5 separate regions of the Homo sapiens genome follow, and regions 2, 3, 4 and 5 are each linked to region 1. The links are contacts of gene promoters, found by promoter capture Hi-C in blood cells and fetal thymus (Javierre and others, 2016). All regions are on one chromosome and are shown on one strand. The core of a region is centred on a gene start or on the middle of the fragment in contact, and the rest is flanking DNA. Distances in the headings are between cores, read along the strand shown.

Region 1 (3,673 bases), core at 524-3,023:
TGTTGAAAGTTTTAAAAAATACTAATTGCACAAAAGGACAGGGGAAATAGTTGACAGTGGTTCACCTAAAAAAGCACCCTTGACCTTTTTTTTTTTTTTTTTGTGAGTGAGGTGGTTGCAGATTTCTATGAAAAAGAAGTTAATTCTTCAGCTCCTTAATGGAACCCTGGATCTCCCAGCTATGCAGGAGGTTATGCTAGAAGTAGAACAAAGCGGAATGTACAAATTTAAGGAAGGTTACTGCCCTGTGTTCTTTTGCATGGGTCTGTATCTAGCATTGGGAGCCAGGTTTTGTTGTTGCTTATTGGGAGAGATAAGAATGGTATATACACAAATAACTAAAAAAAAAATACGTGGTAAATGCTAAAAGACAGGTGCAAAGAACACTGAGATGGAGCTTTCTTGGGTTACACAGCCAGTTTTAATGTTTCCTAATATAGAAGAGCTTTCAACAAACCTCTCAGGCAGGCTGTCTTCAAATGACATTACTTCCCCCAAATACCTAATTTCATTTATTTCAGAACAACTCTAAATGTTAGAGGATTTTCTGAGCTTAAAAATACTGCCTTGTAATTTCTATTGGTTTTAGTTCTGCACTTTGGAGAAGAGAATAAGGCTCCGTTATTTCCAATATTATACTATTCAGTTATTTGAAGACAGCTTCCAATTTCTATGCTCAACCCTTTCCCTCTTTTTTTTTTTTTTTTTTTTTGAGATGCAGTTTCGCTCTTGTCGCCCAGGCTGGAGTGCAATGGCGCTATCTCGGCTCACTGCAACCTCCGCCACCCGGGTTCAAACGATTCTCCTGCCTCGGCCTCCTAAGTAGCTGGGATTACAGGTGACCGCCACCATGCCCCGCTAATTTTTTGTATTTTTAGTAGAAACGGGGGTTTCGCCATGTTGGGCAGGATGGTCTCGAACTGCTGACCTCAGGTGATCCGCCCGCCTCGGCCTCCCAAAGTGCGCTGGGATTACAGGGGAGAGCCACTGCGCCCGGCCTCCCTCGTTTATATGCAGGTTAAAAACTCCCTTGAGCCTTCAACTATTTCTTTTTCTTTTTTTTTTTTTTTTTTGAGGAGTTTCGCTCTTGTTGCCCAGGCTGGAATGGCGCTATCTCGGCTCACTGCAACCTCCGCCTCCCAAGTTCAAACGATTCTCCTGAGTAGCTGGGATTACAGGCATGCGCCACCACACCCGACTAATTTTGTATTTTTAGTAGAAACAGGGTTTCACCATATTGGTCAGACTGGTCTCGAACTCCTGACCTCAGGTGATCCGCCTGCCTTAGGCCTCCCAAAGTGCTGGGATTACAGGCGTGAGCCACAGCGGCTGGTGCTTTCAACTATTTATTTGACATGGCTTCAAGCTTCCTTGCCACCCTAGTGCCGCCATCGCTCCGTTTCCCTTCCCTACCACCCTTGGGGAGTAAGGGTGAGGACTGGGGAATGGCAGAGGAAGCGTAGTTTTTCCGAAGAGCTGAAGGCAGCCTGTGATTATGACCTTAGCTCTTCCTCTTCTCTGTTTTCTGATCTCCTAATACACGTCTGTAAATATCACAAGACCCTGCAAGTCCCTCACTTATTATCTCTTCAAATCTGACGACTTTCAACCGTTCGGGCCCCACGACTCTCTCCCCGGACTAGGATCTACTCTATGGTAGTGAGCTCAGCCTTTCTAGCTCTCTAGTCCTCCCATTGCTCCATCTATGGTTTCCGGAGGCCTCACCGGAAGCCCTCGTGTGAGGCCGTGTGGGAGGCCGGAAGTTGCGGCTTCATTACTCGCCATTTCAAAATGCTGCCGAGGCCCTAGGATCTGTGACTGCCACCCCTCCCCCCACCCGGGCTCGGCGGGGGAGCGACTCATGGAGCTGCCGTAAGGTGTGGCTCTTGGCCTTCGTCGGCGGGGTGCCGGGAGCGGGAGCTGGAGAGTGAGGAGCAGGCGGCCGTACCGCCAGTTGTGCGGGTAGCGGGCGGGAGGAGCTTGAGAGGTGGGTCGGGCGGCGTGGGGAAGGCCGCGCCAGGCGGAAGAAGGGCTCGGGGGGAGGGGAAGAGTTGTGGGATGAGGGCTCGCGGAAGATAAAAGTGGAGGTGGGGTGACGTGAAGTAACTTTGGCCAACAGGTGACAAACCTAAAGTCGACGTAGTTGGATTGAGTTTAACTGGACACAACATTTGAGGACTGTTGAGGCAATTTGGAGAAAGGAGGTGGGAGAGAGGGAACCGGGTAGAATGACATTGACGTGTCTTAAGTTTTTAAGTTAGTTTTTAGGTCTGCGGACAGTCTACCTTAGAGGCACTTGAGTGCTTGTTTGAAAATGCTTGTTTTGGCTTGGCGCGGTGGCTCACGCCTGTAATCCCAGCACTTCAGGAGGCCGAGGTGGGTGGATCTACCTGAGGACAGGAGTTCGAGACCAACCTGGCCAACCTGGTGAAACCCCGTCTCTAGTAAAAATACAAAAATATTAGATGTGTGTGGTGGCGCATGCCTGTAATCCTAGCTACTCGGGAGGCTGAGGCAGGAGAATCACTTGAATCCGTGGGCGGGGGTTGCAGTGAGTCGAGATCGCGCCACTGCACTCCAGCTTGGGCTACAGAGGGAGATTCCGTCTCAAAAAAAAAAAAAGAAAAAATGTTCGTTTTGGGGCCACACTGAAACCTACAGACAGTATCGAGATGGGGCTCAGAGAAATATATTTTAATGAGCACACCTCCCAGTGATTTTTGTATACCTTAAAGCTTGAAAACCACAGGTTTTTTTGGTTGTGTTTTTGTTTTGTTTTTGTTTTTTTTGAGTGGAGTTTCGCTCTTTTTGCCCAGGCTGGCGTGCAGTGGCGCGATCTTGGCTCACTGCAACTTCTGCCTCACGGGTTCAAGTGATTCTTCTGCCTCAGCCTCCCGGGTCGCTGGGATTACAGGTGTGCGCCACCACGCCTGGCTAATTTTGTGTTTTATTAGAGATGAGGTTTCACCAGGTTGGCCAGGCTGTTCTCGAACTCCAGACCTCAGGTGATCCGCCCACCTCGGCCTCCGAAAGTGTTGGGATTACAGGCGTGAGCCACCGTGCCCGGCCGAAAACCACAGTTTAAAAGCAACACCCGGAGAAAATGCTGCAGCTCTGTGCTGTTGGCACGTGGAACTAGTATCTGTCAAAGATACTTGGAACCTCTTGGTGTTAAGTATTACTGTATCTCAGTTTAGATTTAGTCTTCTCTCTCCTCATACATTTTTTTTTTAATAGATGGGATTTCGGCCAGGCCCAGTGGCTCACACCTTTAATCCCAGCACTTTGGGAGGCCAAGGGGGCAGGTTTGCTTGAGTCTCGGAGTTCGACACCAGCCTAGGCAACAAACTGAGCCCCATCTCTGCAAAAAATAAAAAAATCAGTGTCATAGAGCGAGCTTCCAGTCCCAGCTACCCAAGAGACTGAGGTGGGAGGATTGCTTGATCCCAGGAGGTAAAGGCTGCAGCAAGCCGGGATGGAGCTACTGCACTCTAGCTTAGGCGACAGCGCGAGAGCCTGTCTCAAAAAAAGAGATGAGGTCTCACTGTGTGCTCAGGCTGCAGTGCAGTGGCTATTCACAGGTGTGATCATTGCACACTACAGCCTGAAACTCCTGGACTCTAGGGATCCTCCTGCCTCAGCCCTCCGGAATAGCTGGGACTACAGGCACAGG
Region 2 (3,673 bases), core at 681-3,180, 890 kb before region 1:
CTGGAATTACACGGATGAGCCACTGTGCCTAGCCAGGGCTTATTTTGGATTTTGTTTTCAGATGACAGCAGGCAATCTCCAGCCTCACATTGATGAACTCTGAGTTCTGAGCCCAGCCCAACCAGTCTAAAAACATTACTGGCCGGGTGCGGGGGCTCACGCCTGTAATCCCAGCACTTTGGGAGGCCGAGGCGGGCAGATCATGAGGTCAGGAGATCGAGACCATTCTGGCTAACATGGTGAAACCCCGTCTCTACTAAAAATACAAAAACAAAATTAGCCGGGCGTGGTGGCAGGGGCCTGTAGTCCCAGCTACTCGGGAGGCTGAGGCAGGAGAATGGCGTGAACCCCGGAGGCGGAGCTTGCAGTGAGCCGAGATCACGCCACTGCACTCCAGCCTGGGCAACAGAGCAAGACTCCGTCTCAAAAAAAAAAAAAAAAACCATAAAGAAAAAAGAAATAGCAGGGTAAGAAAATGAAGAGGAAAAAGAGGACCCAAATGAGAGAACATTGGGAAGGGTGCTAGTTGGACACGGGGGAAACTGGACCCCGTTTCACAACCCTGTTTCTCCATGCACATGTGGCTCTGCTTCTTGGGGGCAGAGATGACAGCAAAGAAGGACAGGGGGTGGTGTGAGCTGTTGGGTTAGAATGATAGGATCAAAGAGGCCTTTTCCCAACCCTCTGTTTAAAAGGTTGGGAAGTAGTGGCCAGTCACCTTCTTCACAGCATAGCTCATAGCTATAACCTGTGAGACATATGTCAATGTGCCTTCCATAAGCATATAAACATGAGTGTGTTTGCTGAGGTAGGTGTGGGAATCTGTCAGTCAATGAAGATATGTTGTGTGAACCAGCTGATGGTGCATGTTTGTGCTTGAAAGCCATAAAGTTCTATGCAAAATCTATGGGTGGCACTGTTGCACAATGCTAGTGGGTGTGTGGGTATGGGGGTGTGATTAACTGTTTACAGGCTGTGTATAAGTGTGCATGGATGTCTGAGTGTGTGCAAATTAAAACGGAAATATGTGCCGGAGTATGATACAAAGTACAGGAAAGTACTCGGGCTTTGGAGTCTGTCTGACTTGGTCTTGAATCGTTGGCTCTGTCATTAGCCGGATGTATAACCTTGGGCCAGACACTCAATCTTCAATTCCCTCAACTAGGAAATGAGGTTAATAATAAGTACCTTTCAAGATTAAATGAGGACTAGAAACGATACCATATAGACAAAGCTTTTGGTGTCATAGCCCACGCATAGCAGGACTCAAAAGTAAGCAGCTATTTTCATGCACTGTCAGTATACCTCTGGTGGGTACAGGGACAAGAGGGAACAAAATGTGACCTGTATATAAGGTGTAGGGGAGGACGGGTGTGTGTGTGTGTGTGTGTGTGTGTGTGTGTGTGTGTGTGTGTGTGTTTACAAAACAATTTATTCTCCTTCTCCAAGGAACCCCCTATTCAGACAGGAGCAGGAAGGTAGGAGGGGACATACAAGTGTCCACAGACACCTCGGGTTTCTGGGTCCTGGATCTAAGTGAGTAAGGGGTTGAGAGGCCCGTAGGAGCTGCAGGAAGCCAGCCGCCTGCCCAAGCTTCCTTTTTTTTCCCCTCCGCCCAGCAACCGTTGAATACCGCCACCCACATCCACTCCCCACCTCCACCCTCACCCCTCCTCCACCCCTACTCAGCTTTCTATTCAACAAGTGAGAGCAAGGGCGGGGAAGAAAGCCGACAGGGGAGAGGATTGCTTCCCTTTCTTTTCCCATTCCCCCTTAAGACGAACCAGGAAGTAACCGCAAGAATCGGGCCACCTTAACAGTAGAGTAATGGTTTGGCCTCGCGCCAAGTCCCACCTCTGTTCCAGCTCCTGCTCCTCCCCTCTCTCTTCCCGCACTGCTTGGGGAGAGCTGGTGAGCAAGAGTCTGGCCCGAGTTAGCTAGAGCTGTTGCCATGACAAGCATTTTCTTAAGAAAGCTCTGCTGTTGAGATCGTCCAAAGCTGGGGGCTGGGAGGGGGGGCACGAACTTCGTGGGGCACCATCCCTCCGAAGAGAGCAAGATCAGAGACACCCGCCCAGCTCTCCTGCACCCTTTTTCTTTCAGGAACCTGAGAGGTCCTTCCCATTGGAGGGGCAGGGGGAGGAGACCCAGCCCACTCCCCGGCCTTAGCCAGAAAGGCAAGAGAGCAAAGCCAGCGTCTCTAGCTTGGTTGCCACACTGGGGAGACTGGTGGGTGGTCACCCCACCCTACCCTCATCCATGGAAACCCGGAGGGAGAGTCCCGCCTGAAGAAACCTGGATCTTTGCTAGAAAGAGAGGTAGGCTTGCAGAGAATGAATTGACTTGTGATTTGCAAACTTTGTTTCTTTCTTTTCTCTCAATGGCTTCTAAAACTCCCCGATTTTCCTCTTTCTAGAATATTTCATGCGACTGGGTTTGGAGGATTTTTTTTAAAATATGTGTGTGTGCACAGATTTGTCAAATACTGTTTTACCTATTATCAGTTCTGAGAAACCATATAGTCGAACAAGTGATTTATCTCTCTTTTCCTAGTTCTTGTCATTCCTGGGCTATGGGGTAGGGTAATGGAGGGTTCTCTTTTTGACACCAAAATTGAGCTCTTGGAAAAAATATTTATCTCCCCTCCCTCAACCCATTCCGTTCCTGCCCTCCCCTTCCCCCCTTGGCTTGGGAATGAGACGCAGGATGGAAAACTGTTGCAAAAATATTTTCCGTGTCTGTTCCCTTTCTCGAAAGCCCAAAAGAGAGATGGAAAAAAAAAAAAAAAAGGAACCAAAGAAATCTTCAGCAGAAAGAGGGGCTGCAGCGGGAACTAGGAGAGGGGCACTTTGGGGCCATGGGGTGGAGGTGGGCTGGGAGAAGTTGGCAGGAGTGGGGAAGGAGAGTGCACGAATTAAATTTCTTTAGCTTTGCAGAGAAACCTCAGCAGTTTCTCTGTGCTGCTTGCAAAACATCCTCAGACTTTCACATGTATAATTAGCTGTGGAAAAAGCTGGGAGTTACCTCGTACCGCTGTTGTTTGAGTGTGTGTGAGCGTCCAGAACCAACTGTATGAGTGTCTCCGAGGGCACCGCCCCACACATCTCTGGTCCCAAAGGGGAGGAAGGAGAAGGGTGAATTGAAAAGTTTCCGATGTCGAGGCTGGACACTGTGGGGCTGGTGAGTGTTTGGCAGATGGGGTGGGCCACAGGCATCTGTGGAAGGATCCCTGAGCGTCTCGGGCCACTGCCTTGGCTTGCTGAAGAGCTAGGAATTAAGACTGGGATTGTCCTTCCTGCTCTCCCTTCTCTCTTTCTTTTACATACTTGGCTCGCTCTTGGTAGAGGGGGCTGCTGGCATCCTTCCCCGAGTCGAGTCTGGCCTCTTACACTCCTCCACCTCCCTGAGGGTACCCGCCGCTCTTCTCCAACTGGGTGTGGAGGGTGCAGGAGTGGCCAGCCGCATCTTGGGAGGGGAGTGGGCACTCTGCTGCCAGAGGCACGTCCCTCCTGGGCATTCCTGCCGGACTTAACAATAACTTGCAGACGTGATGCCGGCGCCTGCTGGCCGGGCAGGGGGAATGTCAGATGAAGAAATAGGCCGGTACTCAACTGAGGCCCCTGTGGAGAGGGGAAAGGAGTGGGGGAGGGAAGGGAAACAAAATCCCATTCTG
Region 3 (3,673 bases), core at 842-3,341, 810 kb after region 1:
ACACTTTGCAGAAAGAGAAAGAAAAGGCAAGCCAGGAAGTACATGATTGCCCAATAGCTGTAACCTGGCAGCAGGCAACTGGGGACTGTGCCAGGCGATAGCAGGAAAAACATACTCGGTCCTATTGATGGGGCCATAATCTACCCCTTTCTCCAACATCCACTCTCCTTCACCAATGAAATGACTTCTTGAATTTCAAACCAGCTACTGGCTGCAAAAGCAAACACAATCTGGGGAAGTAACTGCTGATGTAGCCAATAGGGCAAACCATACACACACACACACACACACACACACACCCCCTCACAACCAGCACCCAACTGGATTTGGCAAAACATAATAATGCCTAAACCACCTGCTCTAAAAGGCTTGTTAAAATATACATTATATGGCCCTATCCTAGACCTTCAGAATAAATTACTCTGGGTGTGGAACCAGAGAATGTAAGTATTTTAAACAAACATCCCAGGTGATCCTTACGTACTTTAAACTCAAGTTTGAGAACCAGTTAACCACTGCTAACTAACTTTTGACAAATTTGCCATCCTTTCTGGGCTGCCCTTTCCAGAAATTCTCACTGCAAGTTCTTTTTTTGTTTGTTTCGTTTTGTTTTGTTTTGTTTTGTTTTTGAGACGGAGTCTCGCTCTGTTGCCCAGGCTGGAGTGCAGTGGCACGATCTCGGCTCACTGCAAGCTCCGCCTCCTGGGTTCAGGCCATTCTCCTGCCTCAGCCTCCCGAGTAGCTGGGACTACAGGCGTCCGCCACCACGCCCGGCTAATTTTTTGTATTTTTAGTAGAGACGGGGTTTCACTGTGTTAGCCAGGATGGTCTCGATCTCCTGACCTCACGATCCGCCCGCCTCGGCCTCCCACAGTGCTGGGATTACAGGCGTGAGCCACCGCGCCCGGCTATCTCACCGCAAGTTCTATGTGTTAGGAGCAATATAAGTTCATATTTCGATCTTATTCAATCCTCACAGCAGCTTGTGAGGCAGGCTGTGTTTTCTACAGTTCTGCAAAAGGGGAAACAAAGTACAGAGATGAAGGAAATTGCCCAAGGTCACACAGACTGCTAGACTCCTACGCTCGCACCAAAGTAACAGGGCATGTTCTTGAAAAGGCCCCCAAACCGAAAGGTGTCTCTGGTACAGTGGACCTGGTTTCACATTTTCCAGAATCAAAAACTCATCATAATGAAATTTCAACTAAATTTTAGAGCTGGAAAGGACCTAAATGTCAAAACCCACCCCGTGCCAGAGCTCCAGTGTGCTGGGTTGCCAGATTCTTGGAGTTGGGGAAATCCACACCTCATCCATTCATTCAACCACACACATATTTACCAAATACCTATTAAGATGGGGTGCCTTCTACTTCCTCTTTCCATTGCACTCTATTGAACAGTCTTTTCCCAGCAAAACTCAACTTAAGTCCCATCCATCTTATCCCAGGACACGACACGATTCGTTTTTCCGCGCCAACTATCCATAGCCTCCCTTTTATTTGGCAATCATCACAGCAGTACGGTGTTGCTGGCTGGGGTTCGCAAGTTTGCGACCACTGTCCCTGCAATCACGGACTGACACATCTGCCAGGGACACCCCGCAGTAGCCCCGCAAGCTCAGCGCGGTAAAGACCACGCTGGCCTCTCCGCCGAGCAACGAGCGAGCCGCCGCCCGCCCTCCTCCGCTCCCTGCCGGCGGCCAAGCCGGAGCCCGCCCCGCGCCGCGAGAGGGAGCCGCACTCACCAGGCGCCCCGAGCTCTCCCGCGCCTTCTTCACCTTCCCGTAGGTGCCTTTGCCCAGGGTCTCCAGGAACTCGTAGCGGTGCCGCAGGTTGTGCTTGTGGTGGTGCCGCTTCACCGCCTGCTTCTTCATTAGGGGCTTGGGCGACTTGATCAGCCCTTCCGCCAGCGGCCGGGCTAGCTCTGCGGCCGAGGGAGTGGGGCCGGAGCGCCGCGCGAAAACCAGCGACTCCATGGCGAGCAGGAGGTGAGCAAGGGCGGCAGGGGAATCAGTAGGCTGTGCGGGGAGGGCTGAAGCGCGGGGCACAGGTCCCGCACCAGGACGGGGAGCCACAGCAGTACCAGAGCGCGCAGTAAAGCACAGCATTCCAAGTTGTTATAAACGCCCTGAGCCCGAGGCCCTGGACACGCCCCCCGGCGCCCATTGGCCTGCTCGACGGCGGCGCGTGACCACGGCCGTCCACATTGGCTCTCCGGGGCTCCAGGCCCCGCCTCCTCCCCCTCGGCGTGGCCGGGAAAGGTGTCAATGGAACCCGCCCACCAGGAATGGGGACTAGGGGATTCCAGCGAAGGCCGCCTGAGGCCCAGAAGCTTACTCTGAGGGCCCTTGGAGCTGCACTTGCCTCTGAGTGGCGCTTGGTCCTGCTTAATGCCCTGTTGTTTTATTGTACTCTGTTCTCAGTTGGCAAGGGGCGATCTGAGGGCACTAAAGGTCACCAAAGTATTTCTTCATCCTGAGTAATTTGCTTGTCCCAAGCCAAAATCTATAATTGCTTGACCACTTCATTGAGTCCATAAAGGAGAAAGGGAGCTGGGATGGAACAGAGGCAGAATCCAGCCTAGTGGGAGGGTTAGTGCAGAGCTGTCCTATGGTTCGAGTTCACTTGTCTTCAGTTAGATCAACCTTACTTGGATATTGGAATCCAATGGCCCTGGAAACTTCTTCCTTCTTCCTCAAAGAGGGCTTCTTAGGCGAATCGCTTGAGGTCCAGGAGTTCAAGACCAACCTAGCCAACATGACGAAATCCCATCTCCACTAAAGATACAAAATTAGCCGGGCGTGGTGGTGCGCGCTTGTAATCCCAGCTACTCTGGAGGCTGAGGCAGAAGAATCGCTTGAACCCAGGAGGCAGAGGTTTCAGTGAATCAAGATGGCGCCACTGCACTCCAGCCTGGGCAACAAAGTGAGGCTCCGTTTCAAAAAAAAAGAGGGCTTCTAAGGTTTAGTAGATTCCCTCAACCACTTAGTGGAATTTATTTAGGATGTGTCGGCTGGAGGTGGAGAGAACCCGAAGGGATACATATTTATTTAACATTTTTACATGCCGACTATCTAACCTGTGTCCCTAAGTCTGAAAATGGTTGCTCCACCCAAGGTTTTCTTGTGATTTTGGTGCCAGGAGCACTGGTGGTAGGTTATGAGGTTTGACTTGAGACGGAGTCTCCCTCTGTCGCCCAGGCTGGAGTGCAGTGGTGCGATCTCTGCTCACTGCAAGCTCCGCCTCCCGGGTTCACGCCATTCTCCTGCCTCAGCCTCTCCGAGTAGCTGGGACTACAGGCGCCCGCCACCACGCCCGGCTAATTTTTTGTATTTTTAGTAGAGACAGGGTTTCACCATGGTCTTGATCTCCTGACCTCGTGATCCGCCCGCCTCGGCCTCCCAAAGTACTGGGATTACAAGCGTGAGCCACTGCGCCCAGCTTGACTTAGTTTTTGAGGCCTGGAGTTGCTAGGTCCAGAATCTCCACTCTGAGTGCTCATTTACAGTGAAATGAGAATGGCCATAGGTTTTCCTTCTTGCTTTAAATGGCAGAAAGGGAACATTTCCCCTTTGGCCATCTTGATAACCTAATCCTGTGAAATGAGTATTATTCTGTCCAAGGCCACACAACTGGTAATAAAGTGGCGGGATTTAGACCCTGGTCCTGAGGAA
Region 4 (3,673 bases), core at 530-3,029, 750 kb before region 1:
AGCCAAGATCATGCCATTGCACTCCAGCCTGGGCAACAAGAGCAAAACTCTATCTCAAAAAAACAACAACAACAACAAAATACACCCCATTTCCCAGGAACGAGTGTTTTTTGTTGTTGCTGTTGTTTTTTCCCCGCTATTATGATGAATCATTTCAGCTACCTACTTTTTGTTTTAGTTTGTCAGTTTGATTGGATTTTGCCCCATGGGGAAGGAAAGGAGAGCAGGATGAGGGGCACAGCCAAGGCCTGGAATCCTGGCACTCACCTGCAGTCTGAGGCAGGTAACTTGGGCAGCTGCCTCTGAGGTGGTGATTTCCCTGAGATGTGGGGGCAGGAGAGAATTGGACAACCAGAGGGAAGATTGGTCTAACTGCAGCAGATTGGGTAGATAAGATAAGTGAGGCCCTGAAATGATCACATGCAATGGAAAAGTTCTTTAAAAAAAAAAAAAATTTTTTTTTTTTAATTAGCAGTCATGGTTCTGAGGTTTGGTTCCATGTGCCCTTTCCGTGTACTGCCTTCCGAGGTCCTGATTCTCACAGTCCCTTATTGGTTCCAATGGCCCAGGACCCCAGTCCTTGCCACCAGCATGATGGATCTTGTGAGTAGTCCTAGTTCCTACTCAGACCTGATCCAAAGGAGAAGTGGGCAGAGACCCAGGTTCCAGCTCCAGCACCAGCTGCCTCTGAGCCATTTCTGCTTCCTACCAGGTGAAGCTCCTGGGAGGGAAGGGGCCCAGGACCTGGAATGATAAAGCTCCCTGGAAAGCCAGCCATGGCCAGTCTGCAGCCCCTGGGGACTCTGTGAGAGTCTGGATGCAGACAGGCCAGGGGCTGCCACCTCAGGAAAGCTGAGGACCTCAATGTCCACTGGGAAGAGATGGGAGGGAGGCATGGTTCTAGGAGGGTACTGCTGGTCTGCCCTTCCATTCATCTGGGAATCCATTTCCTTGTGGAAAGTGCAATCAGAGAGGTTCTTCACATCCTTACAACAGTCTTAGTGGCCCCTTCTCTTTGGACTCTCCCAAGATGCAAAGAGTGTTTCCGGAGATTAGTAGGCTCAAGAAGGGAGGGGAGTTAGCAATAAATTTTGAACAATCTTCAAACACTTTGGGTAGCTCTTAAGGATGAACTTGTTCAGCTTCTGAGACAGGTGTGTGACAAGTAAGACTGTGACTGATCTTCAGAAGAGCCCTGAGAACAGGAGATCACCAGCAGCCAGGAGCTGTGGAAGGTTGCCTTGGGGGAGCAGGGGTCCTGCTAACCCAGCATAACTTCTATTCTTAAGGTAGTACCCAGAGCAGAGGTTCCCAAAACATGAAACACAGATGAGCTCCATCAAAATCACCTGAAAGCTCCATCAAATTCACCTGGAAAGCATCGATAGCCAAAGCCTGCCCCCTCTGCAGCCTCCACCCACTGAATCAGAAGAGGGTCCCGGAGATCTGCATTTCACTCTAAAAGGCAACCTCCAGTGCTCCTTAGACTTGCTTAGAAAATACTGTAAATCTGAAGACTTATACAACTCTAAGTGTCTCAGAAACTCAGGGTGAAGAATCACAAGTTCTCTACTACCCTGCCCCATTTTTAATCACACTCATCACAGACCACAGAGCACCTGGCAAACCCAGGAACGGTGGGTTGAAGATATGTTTTCTTCTAGCAGATTAAGAGCTGAGCAGAGTTTCCTGTGCCCTGTGCTTCATTAGCACATTGGTGGTGTCGTTTCCGGTGACTGACTCTCTGTTTCCATTCTGGCAAAGTGGTTTGCTCTTTTCACTCTGCTTTGGGTGTTGAAGGAAGACGAGCTTCTCACGGAGCCTCTCTTGAGCCTCTTGGCAGTTTCCCCCTCTGTGCCCCTCACGTTTCCACCAGAAACGTGAAGGCAGAGGCCACAGATTCTCCCTGAGCCACCTCACTTGGAAGCACCATGTCCGGATGAGATCGCACTTCCTGCAGTGGGCATTAGCCACGTCCAGGTAGAACCAAACCTGTTGCTTTTGTATGTTGGGTCAACTTGGCCTGACGTTTCAGAGGTAGACACGAGATAGGGAGTTTGTTGCGGGGGTGGGGAGAAGTGGTAGACATGCTGGCTAACTGATTATGATTAAGAGAAACTTAGAAGCTGAAGCCAGAGAGCATCTCAAAGGTTCCTGATACAATGGATGGTGTCACTCCAACCCTTTCGACAATCAGAGGGAGGACCTTGGAGTCCAGCACTCTGCATGTGACTCCCCGCAGCCTGGACAGGTGAGTGACTCAGGGTGGTGAGCTCCACCCTGCCCTGATTTAGGCAGAAGGTCCTAGTCCACCCTTAGGAGCTTCTTACACAGCAGTGCTGCCACCTCTCAACACCCAGGCTCGGTCTACTAAACCACCAAACTCTAGGCTTGGAGGCATTTGCTCAGGGGTGCTAGGGGGAAAGGAAGGTATTGAGGAAAGAAAGAAAATATTGTGGTAGAGGAAAAACTGTGATAACACTGGCCCTTAAAGCTAGTTGCTTAGACTGGTTGGATTTCTCACCTCTCGGAGGCCCTGAACCCTATCATCAGTCTTTCCTAGGTGTCACCATGACAGAAACAAAAGGCTGAGTTTTCCAAGGATGTGTTTTGAGATCCAAAAACTTGTCATGAATAAAAAATGTAGTGATAGATGTAATAAAGATACGTCCTTAGGACGTAAAATCTTACAGAACTAATCATGGGTATGAATTACTGCTACTACTTTCAATCTCATACAAACAAAATTAAAAATCCATCCACAGTTGAAACTTTAAAAACATTGGCAGCTGACTGGGCGCGGTGGCTCACACCTGTAACCCCAGCACTTTGGGAGGCCGAGTGGGGCGGATCACCCCCACTCTTGAACCAGCCTGGCCAAGACCAGCCTGGCCAACATGGTGAAACCCCGTTTCTACTAAAAATACAAAAATTAGCCGGGAGTGGTAGCATGCTCCTGTAGTCCCAGCTACTCAGGAGGCTGAGGCAGGAGAATCACTTGAACCCGGGAAACAGAGGTTGCAGTGTCATGTCATTGTACTCCAGCCTGGGCAACAAAAGCGAAACTCTGTCTCAAAAAATAAAATAAAATTGCAGTCGTTTGGGGAAATAAATGTTATTATCATGGCAAACACATGTCACTTGCTGGTAGATATGAGCATCAATGAGCAATGAATCAGAAGCCTGAAGCATCTCTCCAAAACTATTTCTTCATTTATTTTTATTTATTTCTAATTGGCAAATCAAAATTATATATATTTATCATGATAGCCTGTTGTTTTGAAATATGTATACATTGTACAATAGCTACATTAAACTAATTAAGATACACATTACTTCACAATTTTCTTTTGTGGTGAGAATACTTAAAATTTCTCAGCAATTTTCAAGAATATGACACATTTTTATTAACTATAGTCATCAACACTTTTTTTGTTTTGTTTTGTTTGTTTTTTTTATTTTTATTTTTTTAGACAGAGTCTCGCTCTGTCGCCCAGGCTGGAGTGCAGTGGCGTGATCTCGGCTCACTGCAGCCTCCACCTCCCAGGTTCAAGCTATTCTCCTGCTTCAGCCTCCTGAGTAGCTGGGATTGCAGGCATGTGCCACCACCCGCGGCTAACTTTTTTTTGTATTTTTAGTAGAGATGGGGTTTCTTCATGTTGGTCAGGCTGGT
Region 5 (3,673 bases), core at 326-2,825, 720 kb after region 1:
GTAAGAAGTTAGAACAAAGCTGTTGGGGGATAACAGGTATGTTTTGTGACTGTGCTAGAAAAACAGTTATTTGGCTGGGCGCGGTGGCTCACGCCTGTAATCCCAGCACTTTGGGAGGCCGAGGCAGGGGGGTCACGAGGTCAGGAGTTCGAGACCAGCCTGGCCAGCATGGTGAAACCCCGTCTCTACTAAAAATACAAAAAATTAGCCAGGCATGGTGGTGTGCCCGTATAGTCCTAGCTGCTCGGGAGGCTGAGGCAGGAGATTTGCTTGAACCCGGCAGGCAAAGGTTGCAGTGAACGGAGATCACGCCATTACACTCCAGCCTAGGCGACACAGCAGGACTCTGTCTCAAAAAAAAAAAAAAAAAAAGAACAGTTATTTTTAAACCAAATGACTAAAGGCTTCCTTATTCCAGCCAGGTTAACTGAGTGATGTCCACCAGGGAAAACAAATCTGGCTGTAAGGACATGAGCCCCCTCCCAAGCCCTCCCTAAGCCATTTGTGAAGACATCACATACATTCTGGCTCCTTGGTCTGTGTTCATCTCCTTCCAAGCCAACTCAATCTTGGCGGTTACTAAGATAATAGAGTGAGAAGAGGGTTTAAACTGCAGCAGGAGAAATCTGAGTTAGACACAAGAAAAGGCTGTTGGAGCATTTGAAATCTTTGTGAAAGGTTATGTCTTTGGAAAAGGTAGTCATCTAAGGATTAAAATCACCTTTGTAAGATGGATTTGTAGAGACTTGGATAGTGGCTGCTCAGAAAATAAATGAACAAATAATTTACCTAGCTGTCTTCCATGTTGGTGTTGAGGCCTCTGCCAGGTAATGTTAGGGACACAGAGATGTAGGAGCTGTAGCTCCTGCTGTCCAGTCACTCATATTGTCATCAAGGGTTCCATCCGTCAGCAGGTGAGAAGTTGGATAACAGTCAGACAAAGCACTAGAAGCGATGTCACAAGGCAGTACACGATTAATTGCAAAATGAGTGGTGCAGATAATGAGCGCTTATGTGTTCAGAGCAGGGCGAGATCGCTGCAGACTGGTGTGATCAGAGAGGGCTTTATGGAGTGGCGAGGTGGTGAAGGATGGGTAGGATGCAAAGAGGCAGAGAGAGGGCACGCCATGCTGGGAACTTTAATAAAAGTCTTCTATGTTGGTGTGTGCTGAATCAGTTCTGCCTAAAGACATGGTGGATGAGGTGACCTTTTCCCACTTGCTTTGGCTCCAGGCTGAATTCTCTAAGCAATAAAGGAAAGAGGAATCAAAATAAAATTGAGAATGGGGGAATTTTTTGCCCGTGTGCCCATGAGTTGAGTTTTTTTTTTAAAATTTCATCTGTGAGGCTGGGGAATAAATAAATGATTCCAAAAATCTTTCATCACTGGGTTTCCAGTAGAAACTCCAAGTGGGCCTGAACAGTTGCAGCTGCCTACTGTACACCACTGTGATCATCAGCGCCAAACCTGGGGTAATGGTTCCTCTCCTGCTCCCACTCAGGCTCCCCACCCAGAGCTTCTTAAGGGCAATTGGAGACTTCTTCAATCCACTTTGGATCCTAAGAGTAGAACTCTGTGGGTTTTTACAGTGATTAGTTCTCTAATGCTGGCCCTGTTTCCATAGAGACCCTATAAATAGAGGAATGTTGGCGACCTAGGCTGGCAAAGGCTCAGGGTGACCCAGTCACCCCACTGAACCCTCACAGCCAAACTGTTGGTAGGGCGGAAGGAGTTTCAAACCCAGGTAGGAGGAAGGGCTATGCAGTCAGCTGCCAGGTGGGATAATTAGCTATAGATTAGTGTGACTTTAAGCTTTCCTGGGATTTGTTGAGAACACACGTACCTGTAAAAATTAGAAACCACTTTTGGTCATTTTTAACCAGATGGTGCCAATGACACTGTACCCCAAGGCATTTTAGTTTTGTATTCATGCAGCTGTGTTTGCAGATTTTGGAGCAAACTTCCCCTTTGGGGGACCCACACCCAGGGAGAAAGACGGATGAAGCCCAACTGTTCAGAAACCACAGCCTTCTCAGGAAGGATCTTTCAGAAGCCATCTAGTCCTCCCTTTTTTCCTGAAAGGACAGTGCCACCCAAGGAGATGGGGCTCTTCCTGCCCTTTCAGATAGTTCCAGGGGAGGGACAGCCAACTCCCCTCACTTCCTTCCCCGGGGCACCTCACCCTGGGAGGCTCTCCTTTCTGACTACCTTATGGCCAGTTCTGGGGACGGCACTTCTTGCTTCGGTCTTACAGATCATGAAAGCCCTGTTTGTTTGCCACCTCTAACTCTGAAGCATCTCAGCTCTCTAATGCATGGCTTCATTTGGCCACCAAAATGGTTTCTGGCAGCCAGGGAAAAGCAAAAGTCAATGTGGAAAAGCAAGTGACATTTTAGGAGCTGGAACCTGTTAGTCAGAGCAGGTGGTGCTTTCTGCTGCGTTGGCGGCTAAGTTCCCTTAAGCTAGTCACCATGGTTTTCCTCACTTCTGAAACTTGTAGCTGGTTATGTGTATGTGCTGAGTTTTTTTTTTTTAAAACACTTACTGTGTTATGTCAAAACTCCTTAACCATCTCCTCCCTGACACCCACATGCAGAAGCGGCCCAGCCCTTGCGTCACTTTGCTGTTCCCGCCTCGCACCTTATCAGTGAGGAAAAACCCCTTCATTTGGAGTAATCTCCTCTCTCTGCACCTTGTTCTTTGACTTCCTTTTTGTTATTTCCCTCCTGCCTGCCTCAGACTTTAATAGATTCCTCGGTCTGCTGGGACAAAGGTCCTGGGGTCTCCTGGTCACTTTCCCTAGGTTTCCTTCAGCTGCAGGACAGCTCAGGGAGGTGGGAAGTAAAGACTTTATAGTTGAGGGTCTTGTCCCATAACATGGGATGGGCAGGTCACAACAGCAGTTCAGGGGACCTAACAACCCTTGACCCAGGCATTTTTGTTTGGCGCCTGCCTCTGATACTATTCTGGGACACATGCAAATACCCTATCTACTTTAAATCTTAAGTCTTGAAATCAGTGTATGGGCCCATGAAGGTAAATTCAATTAGAAGTCGGGGGTTTCTCTGTGTGGCTTGGATGAGCCACTTAGCTATGCTGTGCCTCCGTTTCTTCATCTGCAAAATAGACACTGATGCTGTGACATCTCACATTCCTAGCTCCTGAGATTAGGCTAGTGTCAGATTATAATGACAGTATAAATCGGAACGCACTTTGCAAAATGCTGTTGTATAAATTTTAAAAGTAAATTGACCAAGGATTTTAGGCTCCAAGGCAATATGGCAGACATCGGTGGCCACCGTAGCTCTCCCCAGCACCTCCACCAGCCTCCCGGGGATAGGGGAGAGGAAATGCCTCAGAACTCTAGGACCTCTGCTGAAGTCTTTAGAAGGGAAACTCTTTCTGCCTGAGTGGATCCTCAGTGTTGGAGAAGCCAGTTTAGGAATGGGGGGAGAAGAGGAAGGGACCTGGAATAGAACGCTAGAAAGACAATTCGTATTATGGAATGTGACGATTTGGCAGAGGCAGCTGGGCAAATGCCAGAGCCAGCTGGCCCCATCACAGTGTCTGGAGGGAGGTCTCACATCAGCTTGGGCCTGGGGAAGGGGGAGGTGTCCTGGCAGGTCCCTGGTCTGAAGGCTGCAGGATCTGGCCTGTTCCAAGTCCATGGCA

The links. The method cuts DNA at HindIII sites, captures the fragments that hold promoters and counts their contacts. A CHiCAGO score of 5 or more calls a contact.
Region 2: a contact is called between the fragment with the promoter of ATP2B4 here and the fragment with the promoter of MDM4 in region 1, in 4 of 17 cell types (naive CD8 T cells, fetal thymus, activated CD4 T cells and 1 more). The highest score is 8.1, in naive CD8 T cells.
Region 3: a contact is called between the fragment with the promoter of NUAK2 here and the fragment with the promoter of MDM4 in region 1, in 10 of 17 cell types (naive CD4 T cells, total B cells, activated CD4 T cells and 7 more). The highest score is 9.5, in naive CD4 T cells.
Region 4: the fragment with the promoter of LAX1 here is called in contact with the fragment with the promoter of MDM4 in region 1 in 1 of 17 cell types (naive CD8 T cells); the score reaches 5.4 in naive CD8 T cells.
Region 5: a contact is called between the fragment with the promoter of TMCC2-AS1 here and the fragment with the promoter of MDM4 in region 1, in 1 of 17 cell types (M1 macrophages). The highest score is 8.5, in M1 macrophages.

Annotation. Positions count from the first base shown.
Region 1 is chr1:204,514,633-204,518,305 of GRCh38, forward strand. It overlaps MDM4 (MDM4 regulator of p53), which reads left to right and starts at 1,774. Exons shown (of 11, transcript NM_002393.5): 1 at 1,774-1,877. RefSeq lists enhancers at 256-1,167, 1,028-2,227, 1,168-2,078, 1,517-1,646, 1,657-1,736 and 1 more. The HindIII fragment of the contact is 1,369 bases long and covers 1,365-2,733 here.
Region 2 is chr1:203,624,902-203,628,574 of GRCh38, forward strand. ATP2B4 (ATPase plasma membrane Ca2+ transporting 4) reads left to right here and starts at 1,931. Exons shown (of 21, transcript NM_001684.5): 1 at 1,931-2,318. RefSeq lists enhancers at 925-1,799, 1,800-2,672. The HindIII fragment of the contact is 13,651 bases long and covers 1,592-3,673 here.
Region 3 is chr1:205,319,654-205,323,326 of GRCh38, forward strand. It overlaps NUAK2 (NUAK family kinase 2), which reads right to left and starts at 2,092. Exons shown (of 7, transcript NM_030952.3): 1 at 1,745-2,092. The coding sequence starts at 1,975. RefSeq lists a silencer at 1,599-1,778. The HindIII fragment of the contact is 5,000 bases long and covers 1-2,329 here.
Region 4 is chr1:203,763,404-203,767,076 of GRCh38, forward strand. It overlaps LAX1 (lymphocyte transmembrane adaptor 1), which reads left to right and starts at 1,780. Exons shown (of 5, transcript NM_017773.4): 1 at 1,780-2,251. The coding sequence starts at 2,163. RefSeq lists an enhancer at 1,663-2,022. The HindIII fragment of the contact is 21,277 bases long and covers 1-3,673 here.
Region 5 is chr1:205,235,716-205,239,388 of GRCh38, forward strand. TMCC2-AS1 (TMCC2 antisense RNA 1) reads right to left here and starts at 1,576. Exons shown (of 3, transcript NR_183258.1): 1 at 1,469-1,576; 2 at 790-1,243. The region is part of intron 1 of TMCC2 (transmembrane and coiled-coil domain family 2); the gene reads left to right. The HindIII fragment of the contact is 7,142 bases long and covers 1-1,811 here.